Linked DNA regions of Homo sapiens: regions 2, 3, 4 and 5 are each linked to region 1. Evidence: promoter capture Hi-C in 16 types of primary human blood cells and fetal thymus (Javierre and others, 2016). All regions are on one chromosome and are shown on one strand. Each heading gives the region's core, a stretch centred on a gene start or on the middle of the fragment in contact. The rest is flanking DNA. Distances are from core to core; before and after follow the strand shown. Region 1 holds the start of INPP5A (inositol polyphosphate-5-phosphatase A). Region 2 overlaps JAKMIP3 (Janus kinase and microtubule interacting protein 3). Region 3 overlaps JAKMIP3 (Janus kinase and microtubule interacting protein 3). Region 4 overlaps DPYSL4 (dihydropyrimidinase like 4). Region 5 overlaps STK32C (serine/threonine kinase 32C).

The links. The method cuts DNA at HindIII sites, captures the fragments that hold promoters and counts their contacts. A CHiCAGO score of 5 or more calls a contact.
Region 2: a fragment that was not itself captured here is called in contact with the fragment with the promoter of INPP5A in region 1 in 3 of 17 cell types (activated CD4 T cells, naive CD4 T cells and non-activated CD4 T cells); the score reaches 11.3 in activated CD4 T cells.
Region 3: a contact is called between a fragment that was not itself captured here and the fragment with the promoter of INPP5A in region 1, in 7 of 17 cell types (naive CD4 T cells, activated CD4 T cells, non-activated CD4 T cells and 4 more). The highest score is 13.4, in naive CD4 T cells.
Region 4: a contact is called between a fragment that was not itself captured here and the fragment with the promoter of INPP5A in region 1, in 8 of 17 cell types (naive CD4 T cells, activated CD4 T cells, non-activated CD4 T cells and 5 more). The highest score is 13.8, in naive CD4 T cells.
Region 5: a fragment that was not itself captured here is called in contact with the fragment with the promoter of INPP5A in region 1 in 12 of 17 cell types (monocytes, naive CD4 T cells, M0 macrophages and 9 more); the score reaches 10.1 in monocytes.

The regions. Positions count from the first base shown.
Region 1 is chr10:132,536,520-132,539,043 of GRCh38, reverse strand. It overlaps INPP5A (inositol polyphosphate-5-phosphatase A), which reads right to left and starts at 1,257. Exons shown (of 16, transcript NM_005539.5): 1 at 873-1,257. The coding sequence starts at 947. It overlaps LOC107984282 (a long non-coding RNA gene), which reads left to right and starts at 2,121. Exons shown (of 4, transcript NR_158224.1): 1 at 2,121-2,318. RefSeq lists an enhancer at 307-356 and a silencer at 1,137-2,236. The HindIII fragment of the contact is 3,408 bases long and covers 1-2,295 here.
Region 2 is chr10:132,143,122-132,145,645 of GRCh38, reverse strand. It overlaps JAKMIP3 (Janus kinase and microtubule interacting protein 3), which reads right to left. Exons shown (of 24, transcript NM_001323087.2): 12 at 456-539; 13 at 66-128. Among named protein-coding and RNA genes, the nearest start is that of JAKMIP3-AS1, 42 kb to the left of the region's middle. RefSeq lists an enhancer at 2,304-2,524. The HindIII fragment of the contact is 1,755 bases long and covers 384-2,138 here.
Region 3 is chr10:132,178,906-132,181,429 of GRCh38, reverse strand. All of the region lies in intron 23 of JAKMIP3 (Janus kinase and microtubule interacting protein 3), which reads right to left. It overlaps JAKMIP3-AS1 (JAKMIP3 antisense RNA 1), which reads left to right. Exons shown (of 4, transcript NR_184044.1): 4 at 2,390-2,524. Among named protein-coding and RNA genes, the nearest start is that of JAKMIP3-AS1, 6.6 kb to the left of the region's middle. The HindIII fragment of the contact is 8,704 bases long and covers 1-2,524 here.
Region 4 is chr10:132,196,092-132,198,615 of GRCh38, reverse strand. DPYSL4 (dihydropyrimidinase like 4) reads right to left here. Exons shown (of 14, transcript NM_006426.3): 5 at 1,694-1,755; 6 at 1,515-1,595; 7 at 133-201. Among named protein-coding and RNA genes, the nearest start is that of DPYSL4, 10 kb to the right of the region's middle. The HindIII fragment of the contact is 8,271 bases long and covers 1-2,524 here.
Region 5 is chr10:132,226,145-132,228,668 of GRCh38, reverse strand. STK32C (serine/threonine kinase 32C) reads left to right here. Exons shown (of 12, transcript NM_173575.4): 3 at 541-692; 4 at 1,701-1,874. Among named protein-coding and RNA genes, the nearest start is that of DPYSL4, 40 kb to the right of the region's middle. The HindIII fragment of the contact is 5,425 bases long and covers 1-2,524 here.

The sequences.
Region 1 (2,524 bases), core at 8-2,507:
TCTAGGAACCAGAGTTAGGGGCAGGGTCCAGAATTGGGTTTGGGGCCTGATTCTGGAACCAGGGTTCCAGGTTCAGGGGTCAAGGACAAGTGTTCAGGGCCATAAGCTGGGGCCTGAGGTTGAAATTCAGGGTTCAGAGTCAGGCTAGATTGGCTTTAGAGGCAAAGGGCCACAGTATGAAGGCTGGGATTCTAGGGCTAGAATTCAGTGATTGGGGAACAGGGACAGGAGGTTGGGGCCACAGCCCTGTGTCAGAAGTTCCTGGGTTAGGGTTTGTGGTTATGTTTCAGGGTTTGGGGTCCAGGGCTCAGGGACCAGAGACAGACGTTTGAGAGCAGGTTCTGTAACCAGAGTTCTGCAGTCAGGATTTGTGGTTCCAGTGACCATGGACCTGGGGTTCAGGGCCAGGGTTGGGGATGGGCATTCCAGGGCCAGGGTTCTGAGGATTCGGAAATCAGGGCTGGGGCTGGGTTTGGTGCGCACAGACCCGGTTTCTGGGGTTTGGGTTCCAGGAACTGTTAACAGGGGTTCTGACAGGGTTTTAATATTGGAGTTTCGAGGTCAGGATTTGCAGACAGGAGTTCAGAGGCAGGGTCCCAGGGTCAACGGTCAGCTGCTGGAGTCTGGAGGATGGGGTTCGGGGATTCAGGGCCCAGGTCTTCAGGTCTCGGGCTTGGGGATCAAGACAGGGGTCTGGGCTCCCAGACTTGGGAATCAGGACAGGAGTCTGGGGTCCCGGGTACAGGGATCAGAGTCTGGGGCCTCTGGGTCTGGAGGTTCACGGTCCAGGGTCCAAGGCTTGCAGTTCGGGACCCCGGGGTCAGGGTCGGGGGTTCCGGGCTTGGGGCCTGCCGCCGGCACGGGGGACTTACGTCGTCGAAGAGCGAGCCCACGTTGGCCGTGACCAGCAGCACCGCGGTGCCCGGGGCGGCCGCCTTCCCCGCCATGGTGCCCGGGCGGCGCGGGCGCTGGGCTGGGCGGCGGCGGCGGCGGCCGCTTCCTCCGGGACCGGCCGGCCGGGGTCTTCGCGGGGCCGCGGGGCGTCAGCTGCGCCGGGGGGCGGCCCCGGGGCGCATCGCGGGCTCGGCGGGTCGGCCGGGCCTGGCCGGGGCTCCGGCCTCGCGCTCGCTCGCTCGCTCGCTGCTCCGCGGCCCCGCGCCCGTCGCTCGCCGCCGCGCCTCACAGCGGCCCGCGCGCAGCCATTAGATCCGCTGGGAAAGTTCCCGCAGCCGCCGCCGACTCAGGCTGAGGGCAAGTCCCGCCCCGCGGAGCCGAGCCCGGGGCGGGGCCTGGGCGGGGCGGAGCCTGACTCGGGGTGGGGCCTGTGCGGGGTGGAGCCGGGCCTGGGGCGGAGCCTTGCTGGGGGCGGAGCCTTGAGGTGCGGAGCCTGAGTTGGGCCTAGATCTGAACAGAGTGGGGCGGGGCCTGCGGGGGGCGTGGCTTGTGCGGGACTTGGTGTCCTTGTGGAGGCGGGGCCTGCCCCGGGGCGGGGCCTCCTTTCGGGGCGGGGCCTACGCGGGGCGCTCTTGCGACCGGCGGCCTAGTACTGGTCGCTCCCGGAGGGCGCTCCTGTCAGTCAGGCCCGCAAGAACGCCGCGCCCCCGCCCCGCCCCCCGCGCCGCGGCTGCGCACAGACTCCGCCCTTCGCACTTCTATGACGTCACGGCCCTGCTCCGGCGGCGCCTCTTAAAGGGGCCCTGGGTTCCGGGCGCCGGCGGCGGGTGCGCTCTCTTGCGGCTCTGAGGGGATGTTCCAGCCCCCGCGCGGCCGCAGTCGTCCAGCCGCGTGCCGGGCGTGCGGGGGAGGGGAGCCCACCGGGGCGGCGGCAGTCGCGCCTGCAGGGGCCGGGCCACGCGCGCCCGGCTCTCCGCGCAGACGGAGCGTGGACCGTGCAGCTTCCCGGCGCGTCCACCCGGCTCCCTGGCCGCGACCTCACTCACGAGGAGCGGCTGCGGCCCAGAGAAGACGGAGGGGAGGCGGCGTGAGGCCAGGCGCATCCTGACGTCGCGGAGGGCTCCGGCCCGGGCCAGGCTGGGTCTCAGCGCGGGGCGTGCAGGGAACCCTCGCAGGGACGAAGGGGGCTCCAGGGGAGGGGGCTGGTGCGGGCCCAGGAGCGCAGAGCACGGAGGAGCAGCCGGCTCGGCGCGGGCCCCGGGGCAGCGATGCTGATCCTGGCCGCCGGAGGGGCCAGAGCATGGGCTGGACCCTGGGTCTGAGGCCGCGGGGACACAGCCGCCGTGAACCGGGACATGCCTGTAGATGGAGGAGGAGAACCACATTTGTCATCTTAAAGCTTCCAGTAGCTACATTTTTTAAAGGTAACAAGTAATAGCCAAAGTTAACAATACGTTTTACTTAACCCAATAGATAGATACATCATTCAACATGTAACCAGAATTTAACAACCTCAGTGAGATTCCTTCACAGGAAGGCTTTGCACGGGCACCTGCCTCTTGGCAGCAGCTCACAAGGCCGCTTCCAGTGCTCAGCAGCCCTGTGTGGCCAGTGGCCACCATGCGGAGCA
Region 2 (2,524 bases), core at 12-2,511, 390 kb after region 1:
GACCACTGCAACCCCCAGGAGCATAGAGCGAGTCCTGCCAGGGCCTCCAGGGGTTCGGGGCTCACCTTTTCCACAAGCTCTTGATTTCTCCGGTACAGTGCCTGCTTCTCTTCAATCCACTTCATATCCTTGCAAATGGAATTGAAAGAAATAAAGACACTGAGGGAGGAACTCATAAACCAACGTTTAAATCGTGATGTGGCAGAACACCAAAGACCAGTCTGGCCAGCGTGGCAAAGCCCCGTCTCTACAAAAAATACAAAAATTAGCCGGGCGTGGTGGCACATGCCTGTGGTCCCAGCTACTCAGGAGGCTGAGGTGGGAGGATGGCTTGAGCCCAGGAGGTCAAGGCTGTAGAAAGTTATGATCGCACCACTGAAGCTTGTCTTTAGGTACAGCCAAATACCTCCCACCCACGTGTGCCCCCACGCCCGTGCAGATGGCTGCAGGCTCACCTGCCCCTGCTCCGCCAGGGCCTTCTCCAGGTCCTCTATCCGCGCCTGTGCCCTCTGCACTTCGGCTTGTAGCTGCTCACGGGTCTGTAGGACGGGAGGAAAGATACATCAAATTTTCTCTAAAAGCTGGGACAGACAGCACACACACTCGTGGGACGTCAGAAGGGTCTGTCTTTTGGTTCAGTTCATTGAGAAGTGACTGTTCGCCCTTCCTTTGGAAGAGATGCTTTCTAAGAGAGGGAGAACTGTTTTGTTTTTTTTTGAGACAGGGTTTGGCTCTGTCATCCAGACTGGAGCTCAGTGGCACAATCTTGGCTCACTGTAACCTCCGCCTCCCGAGCTCAAGTGATCCTCCCACCTCACCATCCTGAGTAACTGGGACCACAGGTATGCACCACCACACCCCACTAATTTTTGTATTTTTTGTAGAGACGGGGTTTCACCATGTTGCCCAGGCTGGTATCAAACTCCTGAGTTCGAGCAACCCACTTGCCTCAGCCTCCCAAAGTGCTGGGATTACAGGAGTGAGCCACTGCGCCCAGCCCTGGAGGGAGAACTTTAAGGCTTATTTGAAGCAAGAGATCTCACTTAGATTCTAAGGGGAAATCCTGCAGGTTGATTTTGAGAGCCTGTTAGGAGAAATCTTTGTTTACAGGATGACACAGCCAATGAGGATGACTGAGGCCTAGCGTGTGCTCAGCCCTGCCAGGTGCCGGCCAGAGGGCTTTGTTCGAGGGACTCTCCACATGGACCCGCTGGAAGCCCCGGGTGGTGCCGCTGCCTGTACTGGAGCTGCCCCTCTGGAAGCCCCGGGTGGTGTGGCTGCCTGTGCGGGAGCTGCCTCAGCCCAGGGCTCACTGCCTTCCTGAATTCTGTGTTCCTTAACTGACTCCCAGAGCCCGCCCCACATCTACAGGAAAAGCCCTGGCGCTTCCCCCGTCCGCATCCTGGTTTGTGAAGTCCCTCCCGAGTGCCACCGAGGCTTCTAGCCGAGGTCTGAGCCACCTCCCTTAATTCACTTTGCTGTGGTGGCTCCGAACCATGGGGCCACAGTGGCTCCTGCTCTCTCTGGGGATAGCTTCCAAGGGAGAGGTGCGTTTCGGGACAGGACGCAGGGTCAGAGGATCCATCAGCCGGGGTGGGGGGTGGGCGAAGGCGTGACCTGTGGTGCCCGCCCCCGAGTGCTTGGTCCCAGCTCCCTGCCCCCAGGCCGTCCTGGGCTCCTCCCATCACCCCAGCCTCTTCCCTCCCTTAAGGGGTCACAATCGTGGATGTGAGCCCTTGGGTTGGAGAATGCTTAGCAGAGAGGGAATTCCAGTTAGTCCTAACCCTGTTTCCGGACAGGGAAACGGAGCCCACAGAGGGCTGTGGGCCCCCTGCAGCCTCAGGACCGTGGCAGGGATGGGCCCACGTCCATGTCTTCAGACGCCTGTCCTCTCCTGCCCCCTTCCTTATCCTGAGGCTTCCTCGATTTCCACAGTGAGGAGTGACATTTCCAATTATAATACAGAATCAGACTGTGGGATGCCGGCTAGTCTATTTTCTTCATTAATCTTTTCTGTATCTTCTAGTTTTTAAAATAACCATGCAGCACTTCTCGGCATCAGATTTTCCTCTGATTCTAAATGACATTAAACTTTTTTTTACATGCAGTTTGGACATTTTTACTCTCTAAGCAAAGCTTCTGAGTTCTTTGCTTCCATGTGGCCCCCGAGCAAATGTTTCTCTGGCACCCGACAGGAAAAAGGGAAGACAGGATGCTTTCTCCAGCTCCTCCAGCTCCTGGCGAGCTTGGCCAGGAGGATGCGGCTGTTGCCCCGCCCCCGCTGTGAGGGAGAAAGGCTGGGCCCATGAGGCTCTGGGATGTCTCGGGGCTGCTGTGCTTTATGATGCTCTGAACCGAGGCCTTGACTTTTTCCTTTCTCCAAGGGTCATGCAAAAATTAAGTCAAAGTGAAAGAGGCGATATTTAAAGTCCCCAGTTACGGAGACAAATCTCTCCGAGCCTGAGGAGGGGACGCCCCCTCCAAGGCCAGCCCCCCCCACCCCGACTCAGGACAGGAGGAGGGC
Region 3 (2,524 bases), core at 8-2,507, 360 kb after region 1:
CGGTGACACTTCCAGGCTGAGAAGGGCCGGGGATCTGGACACCTACCCAGAAACACTCCCACCCTGTCAATGCCTCTCTGAATTATGTGATCAACTGCCTGGAGTATGAACTAGGCACATGCAAATAGAGAACAGAGGTCTTGTTGAAAATATGATGCTGAATTTTAAAAACTCACTCCCCAAATTAAAGGAACAAGACCAGAGCATTTGGTTTCCTGTGGTCACTTGATCCCTCTCCAGAGCCAGCTGCTGCTCTCCATTGTCAGCACACTCCACTCACTGCCCTATTTCCAGAACAGGAGACTTTCTGCCCCATCCATGGCCGCAACATACCACTCACACACACACACTACATGTGCACGTACACACAATGCACAATACACATACCTGCACATGTGCAAACAGCACATACACACTGCACATGCATGTACACACAATACACTACACACACATGCCCACACAATACGCACAAATGCACTGTACATGTGTACACACAATGCAAAATACACATACAGGCACATGCAATGCACAACACATACACATACATGCACATGCCCAAAGACACCACTCACACACAGCACACACATGCACACGATATATACACACATGCATACACAACACACCACTCACAGCACATGCATACGCGCACACACACACACGCACACACACGCACACACGCGCGCGCACGCACGCACACACGCACACACACGCACACACACGCGCACACACACACGCACGCACACACACGCGCGCGCACACACACGCACACACGCACACGCACACGCACACACGCACGCACACACGCACACACACGCACACACACACGCGCACGCACACACACACGCGCACGCACACACACACGCACACACACGCATGCACGCACGCACACACACACACACACACACAGTTCTGCTTCCAGGTTTGCAGTCTTCCCAAATCCCTCCCGCCCTACCCCATCTGTTCCGTCTCTTCTAGGGAACGTGATCTTCTCCCTCCCACCCACCCTCCCCTTTCTGGGCACTGTCCCTCACAGTCAGCTGAGGACCTCATCCAAACTGGAGCCATGTCAGGCACAGGACAGGTGGGAGGCAGCCATCCATGGGTCTGGCCTTGGTCTCTGTGGCTCCATGGGGCTCCTCAATGCCCCCAAGCAAGCTCTGGCACCCCAGGGTCCTCACTCAAGAGTGTCTCTGTGGACAGGCCTGAGGCTGCTAGCTGCAGAAGTGCCTGCTTGCAACGGTGGCCATTGGCTGGCGTCTGGGAACTTGGCTTCGAAGCATTCCTTTAGTGAGGAGGTTCCTGCCTAGACTGTGCAAACAATGTGATTCATGGCAAACACCAGCCTTCCTTTTGAGGGCCTGGCATGTTAGTGGGTGGGGGGCGCACAACTGAGTAGCCCCCAAATCAAAACCATGAATTTTGGGTCTTAGCTGGAATTTCCCGAGCAGAAACACTGCATATATGGGGCTGTGTTTTGCTGCTGGAGGGAGTGTGTGCCCCGTGTGCACCTCACAGGGGGAAGAGCATGGGAGGGGAGAGAGCACAGGAAGTCTGCTCACAGGCCTCTCCAGGCTGTGCCTGTGAACTCTTCCCTTGCAGATCCAGCCATGCCTCCCGATTATAGGGCTGCGATAATGGTGTGGCTGTGCCATGGTGTGGCTGTTGTGGTGTGACCCTGCCGTGGCGTGACCCTGCTGTGGTGCGACCCTGCCGTGGTGTGGCCCTGCTGTGGTGTGACTGTGTGCTGAGTCCTGTGAATCCTAGCGAGTCCCCAGAGATGCAGGTGGTCTCGGGGACCCCCAGAACATCTGCTTTCACTGTTGCCTGGAAGTGTGGGGGGTGGGGGGAACATGGGGCTGCGAATTGCCTTCAGGGAGCGCATTCTTTTACGTACTTGGCCATTCACGTGGCAAATGTTTATGTGAGTGTATCAGTGCCACAGTAAGGGTTCCGCGGGAGAAACCCAGATAATCCTCATCCCAAGAGCTCCCAGTTCTCAGGGAGGGGGCAGGAAAGTGCTGCTCAGGTGGCTGAGCTTCGAGTGACAGGAGAGAGGTAGGATGTGGGGAGCTCAGGCATAGTGCAGGTGGAGCCCCAACCAGCTCAGAGCCCGGGGAGCCCAAAAGTCCCGTCAACAAATACAGCCCCGTGACCGTGCATGATGCTGGGGGAGGATGAGCACTGAGGGCCCCTGCCCTTCACGCTGGAGGGGAAAGCCTGGGTAATTTTATCTTGGGCTGCAACGAGGATAGCTGATGAAGTGTAGGAACAAGTTGACAACCACAATCATGAACTTGGCTCATTGGACAGTGCCAAGGGCGGCAGCAGGGACAGGAGATGGCAGCATGCCTGGGGCACCACCCAGGGCTGACACAGGGTGTTTCCACAGGTCGGGGCCCCCAGCCCCACGGGCACGAAGGCACCAGAACCTCGCTAAAAGCTGCAGGGCAGAACCCTCATCAATACCACCATGGGTACCACGTGCAGACGTAGTCGTACATATGGATCAGGAAACAGCATTCTG
Region 4 (2,524 bases), core at 7-2,506, 340 kb after region 1:
ACGCCTCCCAGATGAGGTCGGGGCGAGCACAGTGGCAGGGCCAGGAGCCCAGGGCCAGGGTCAGCACAGCCCCAGGCAGCAGTGGTCTGGGCGGAGTTGGCTCGGGTGTGCTGTGGTGCCCTGGGATCTTACCTCCTCGGGGTGGCTGAGCACGTGGCCCTCGGGGCCAGTGATGCCGAGCTCCAGCAACCGCTTCTGCTCCTAAAGAAACCAACAGGATGCCTCGCTCCAAGCCCTGAAGGGAGCCTGGGCCTTGGATGCTAAGCCCAAGGCTGGGAGGCCCCATTCCCCAAGTGGTCCTGGACCCCCAGGCCTCCCAGAATTTCCCAGCCACAGAACACTCAGAATAGAGGGCAGAGGGGCTTGGAGAGGTGTGATTCCTGCTCCCTGAGTTACCAAGGAGGGGACAGCTCGGATAGGGGAAAGTGGCTCCCCCAAGGCTGCAGGGCTCCTGACTGATGGCACCAAGACCCCACCCTCCCACCACTATGCCCATCACGCTGCCTCCCCCAGCGGGGGCATGTGTGGGGGTGTGCACAGGCAGGGAGGGCTCTGCAGGTCAGGAATGGACGACCACTCCTTCCTCCAGCACTGCCTTTCCGTGCAGATTTGCACTACGGCATCCGCTCGTGTCAGGGAAGACATGGTACCGGCCAGAAGCAGCAGCCCCAATACTGAGGCTCCCTCCCGCTGTATGTGGAGCATCCCTAGACCCAGGACAACCTCCTGACGGTGCAGCCGGGGCCTGGCCTTGGGCCACAGAAGTGTTTGTGATGCCCCGATGCCCTCACAGCTGGACGGGTGGACGAGGACACTGGGGACCCCCCACATGCCCCTGCCCGAGTGCCACCACCTTCCTGTAGAGCTCAGGAGGTGGGCAGAGCCCGTCCCGTCCCACGAAGTCTCACTGTGGGTTTGCAGTGTCAGGGAGGTGTGTCCTGTGTGGTGACCCCCACTGAGGTCCCACGGGTATGGGGTGGCCCACTCTCTGAACTCCATCTGTACCTGTGGGTGCCTCTGCTAGAGGGGAAAACAAGGTGCAGGGCCAAGGTTGCCTCAGCCCCAAGGGCCTGGGGGGTCGGCGCCACTGCACGCGGGCTCAGGCCCTCCCCAGCCCGGTGGGATGTGTCTGAAGGATGTGGCCCTGTCAACATGGGTGCCCTTGGCTGGAAGGAAGGTGGTAACCCAACCCCCAGCGGGTACCCCGCTCCACAGGAGGGGCCTCGATCCCTGGGGCTGACACTTTGCTTTTGAGGTATTTTGGATAAGAAGTGTTGATCAAGGAGAAGCTGTTTTATGGCCTCAAAGCTCCCCATCACCCCCCAGTCTCTCTAACTCACTGGTTGACCTTTGACTCGGGGTAAGCTATGACCCTCCCTCAAGGTTTTGTGGGATTCTGTGCTGATGTCTGCGTATCATGAAAGTCACCCTCAGACCCCTGCCCCACCCCACAGGCAGCCCCTGCCCCACGGCAGCCCCTGTGCCTGCCCCACGGCAGCCCTGCCCCACGGCACCTCCTCCACGATGTCCCCGTTCTCAGCGTGCACCTGGGCCAAGGCCCCCAGGTCCCGGATGATGCTGAAGATCTCGTACATCTGGGAAGAGAAGTGGTGGCGTCCTGGGTGGGGCTGCGCCTGCACCAGCAGCGGCCTGGGATATACCTGCCCACTCCGTTCCCCACGCCTGCCCTTACCTGGCTGTCGCTGCACTGGCACCGGTCCTTGTATGCCATGAAGACCAGGAAGGAGTTCACACCTGGAGAAGAGGCAGGGGTCAGAGGCTCAGCCATCACCAGTCAGACAACCTACGGAGCCTCTGCTGCTCCTGCCCACTGGAGGGTTGGGGGTCTTGGGCCCCTCCCCCGCAGTGCTTCCCTCACTGGCTTGCCAGCCCTGGGAGCAGTCCCCCGCTTCCATGCACACACCAGCAAGCTGGGAAGTGAGGCGGAGGCAGCTACATCCAGGCCCTCCTTGCCTGCTCCTGTGCTCCGGGTTAGGAACTGATTGTCCACCCAGCGGCAAATGCAGGTGAGAACCCCTCACACCCATCCAGCAGACCCCCCGTTACTGGAAGAGCCGCTGTGCCTGGGCTCTCGGCCTGGGTTCCACTGGCTCCCTCCTGGAAGTGCGGCCAGGGCCGCGCTGTGCTGGGGACCTGCATTCTGGCCGTCCAGCACATCCAGCACCTGCCTGCAGGGCCTTGGAGCCCCACTTGCCATGCCTGGCTCACAGTGCAGGCTTGTGGGACCACCCAGATCTCAGGGCTGGGCCCTTAGGACGAGCAGAAGGATGAGGGGCTGCCTCTGACGTTGGGGCCCAAACAGGAAGAGGGCTGAGCTCTCCTGTTTCCTGGGCAGCCACAGCCCATCCACCTCCCCCAGGACTCGGAACTTGTGTGGGGACCGGCCTGGGCCTGGAGGCAGGATCCCAACCTCCCATCACTCAAGCCCACCCAACCCATGGCATCTCCTCCTCGCTGGGTGGAAAGTGCTAGTGTGACAAGCTAAGGCACACTGGGGAAACTG
Region 5 (2,524 bases), core at 10-2,509, 310 kb after region 1:
GCTCCAAGCCCTGGAAAAGGATGTTGGGGTTTAGGAAGGCAAAACTCCATGCCCAGGTCGTGGCTGGTGAGGGGCGCTCCCCGCACAACCAGCCACTGCTTGGCTCCAACTCACGCCTGGATGCTGTTAGGCTGGACCCTGTCTGTTTGCAGATAGCGCCTGTTGACAGATGTGTCCTGCTGCAGACTTGAAACGCAGGACTGAGTCTCAGGGAGGGGTCTTCACTAACAGCCATGGAGCCAGGATGTCACTGAGACAGGTGCCGCCAGGGCCACACACTAACCAGTACAGGAACCTCTGGGGGGCAGAATCACGGCCTCCAAAACACCCACATCTTAATCCCCAGAGCAAATATGTTACCATATGTGGCAGAGAGGAATGCACCTGCCGCGTCTAGGAGGCAGAGGGGCTGCGGCGCGTCCCCAGGTGTCCCCTTGTGTCCTGACGATGCGTCCCCAGGCATCCCCATGCATTTCCAGGTGTCCCCACGTGTCCCCAGGCGTCCTCAGGCGTCCTGCCGAACAGCCCTGTGCCCTCCAGGTGTGCATTGTGCAGAAGCGGGACACGGAGAAGATGTACGCCATGAAGTACATGAACAAGCAGCAGTGCATCGAGCGCGACGAGGTCCGCAACGTCTTCCGGGAGCTGGAGATCCTGCAGGAGATCGAGCACGTCTTCCTGGTGAACCTCTGGTGAGCCTGCCATGGCCTCGCTGCAGAAAGACTTACCGTCCTGAAGCCGGGAAGGCACTGGCTATCCTCTCCTGCCCTTGGTGCTCCTTGGCCCTCGTGCCTCGGAGATGCCTCTGCCACCCACAGGCCCTCTCTAGCCCTCCTCATCTATCCCCCTTCCTGTGCCCCAGGCCTGGCAGTGGCCCAGGTGGCCATGACATGCTGGGGTTGGTTAATGCAGTGTCTCTTCTGAGCCTGCCGGAAGACCAGGGCTTCCCTACAATGGAGATGTGCTCCCATGGAGTCTCTGGCACTAGTCAGAGAGGGAGAGAGTTTAGGGACTGAAAAACTCACCACTGTCATCACCATCACCATCACCACCATCATCGCCATCACCACCACCATCACCACTGCAACCATCATCACTCTCATCACCGTCATCACTATAATCAACACAATCACTATTGTCACCACCATTACCACCACCACCACGACCACAATCACTGTTATCACCATCACCACCACCCTCAGTCCTCACTACCGTCATCCTCACCATCACCGTCACCACCACCACCATCACTGCCATCGTCAACACCATGGATGCTGGTTGTTAAATGCCAGCTCTTTGCCCAACACTGTCAAGAGTGGTACCTACACGGCCTCATTTTCTGTAACAACCCTCCGAGGCAAATGTCTGTATCCCCATTTTACCGAAGAGGAGGCCGGGCAGCCTGAAGCACCCGGAGCTGGCACTGTAGCTCTGCTCTGCATTTGCCACTCCCAGGTGCCTCTGGCCCCAGCTGGGCCACCTCCAGCACAGGGTGGTGTGTCTTTCCTCAGGATCTGGGCTCAGAGCTGCTCTGGGCTGGGGTGCAATCAGTGCCTTGGGCAGGCCCCTCCTCCTGGGAATGCCTGGTGGCTGATGCTGGGGTGGGGCTGTGGTCCTTAGGGGGAGTGTGTCAGCTGTGGGAGCAGCCATGACTGGCTCCCCAGCTGTGCGCACAACAGGCCTTCCATCGGTGCCCACAGGTACTCCTTCCAGGACGAGGAGGACATGTTCATGGTCGTGGACCTGCTACTGGGCGGGGACCTGCGCTACCACCTGCAGCAGAACGTGCAGTTCTCCGAGGACACGGTGAGGCTGTACATCTGCGAGATGGCACTGGCTCTGGACTACCTGCGCGGCCAGCACATCATCCACAGGTGTGTGCGTGGCAGACGGCGCAGGTACCTGCTGAGGTGGGCGGGGCTGAAGCAGCCTTAGGTCAGGCTGCCGGCACGGCGGCCGTACTCCCTCAGAGCGGGTCTAGCTCCTCTGCCCCACCCTTGCCTGAGTGCCTGCCCCCAGCTGTGGCACCTGTGCCGACCAGGTCAGCCCCATAGCTGTGTGCCTGGTGTCCATCTGGGGGGACCTCGTCCCAGCAGCCCCAGCTGAGACTGGGCACAGTGGGCTGTTAGCCCTGGTGGACAGACCACCAGGCTGGGTCACAGCAGGTGGCCTTCACCTGGTCCATTTAACTGAAGGCTCCTGTTTGCCCATCCACCACATCCCAGGGAATCCAAACTAATTTTAACATTAGCTTAAAGCAGATGAAATTAGGAAGCAGAGCTGGTGTGATGGCTCTGAAAATAAAATTTAAAAAAAGAAAATAGGAAGCAGATTATGAAGGAAGTGAAATTGGGAAGCAGAAATTAGGCTGAAATTCCGCAGCAATGGAACAAAATGAAAATATCTGTGAGGTATATTTTAAAGTCGAATGGACTGGTGTTTGCATTTCTGCTCTTGGGGACTCGGATGTCTGATTATGACCTAGGCACCAGTCACTGAGCACTGGCTGTGTACCTGGAAAAGT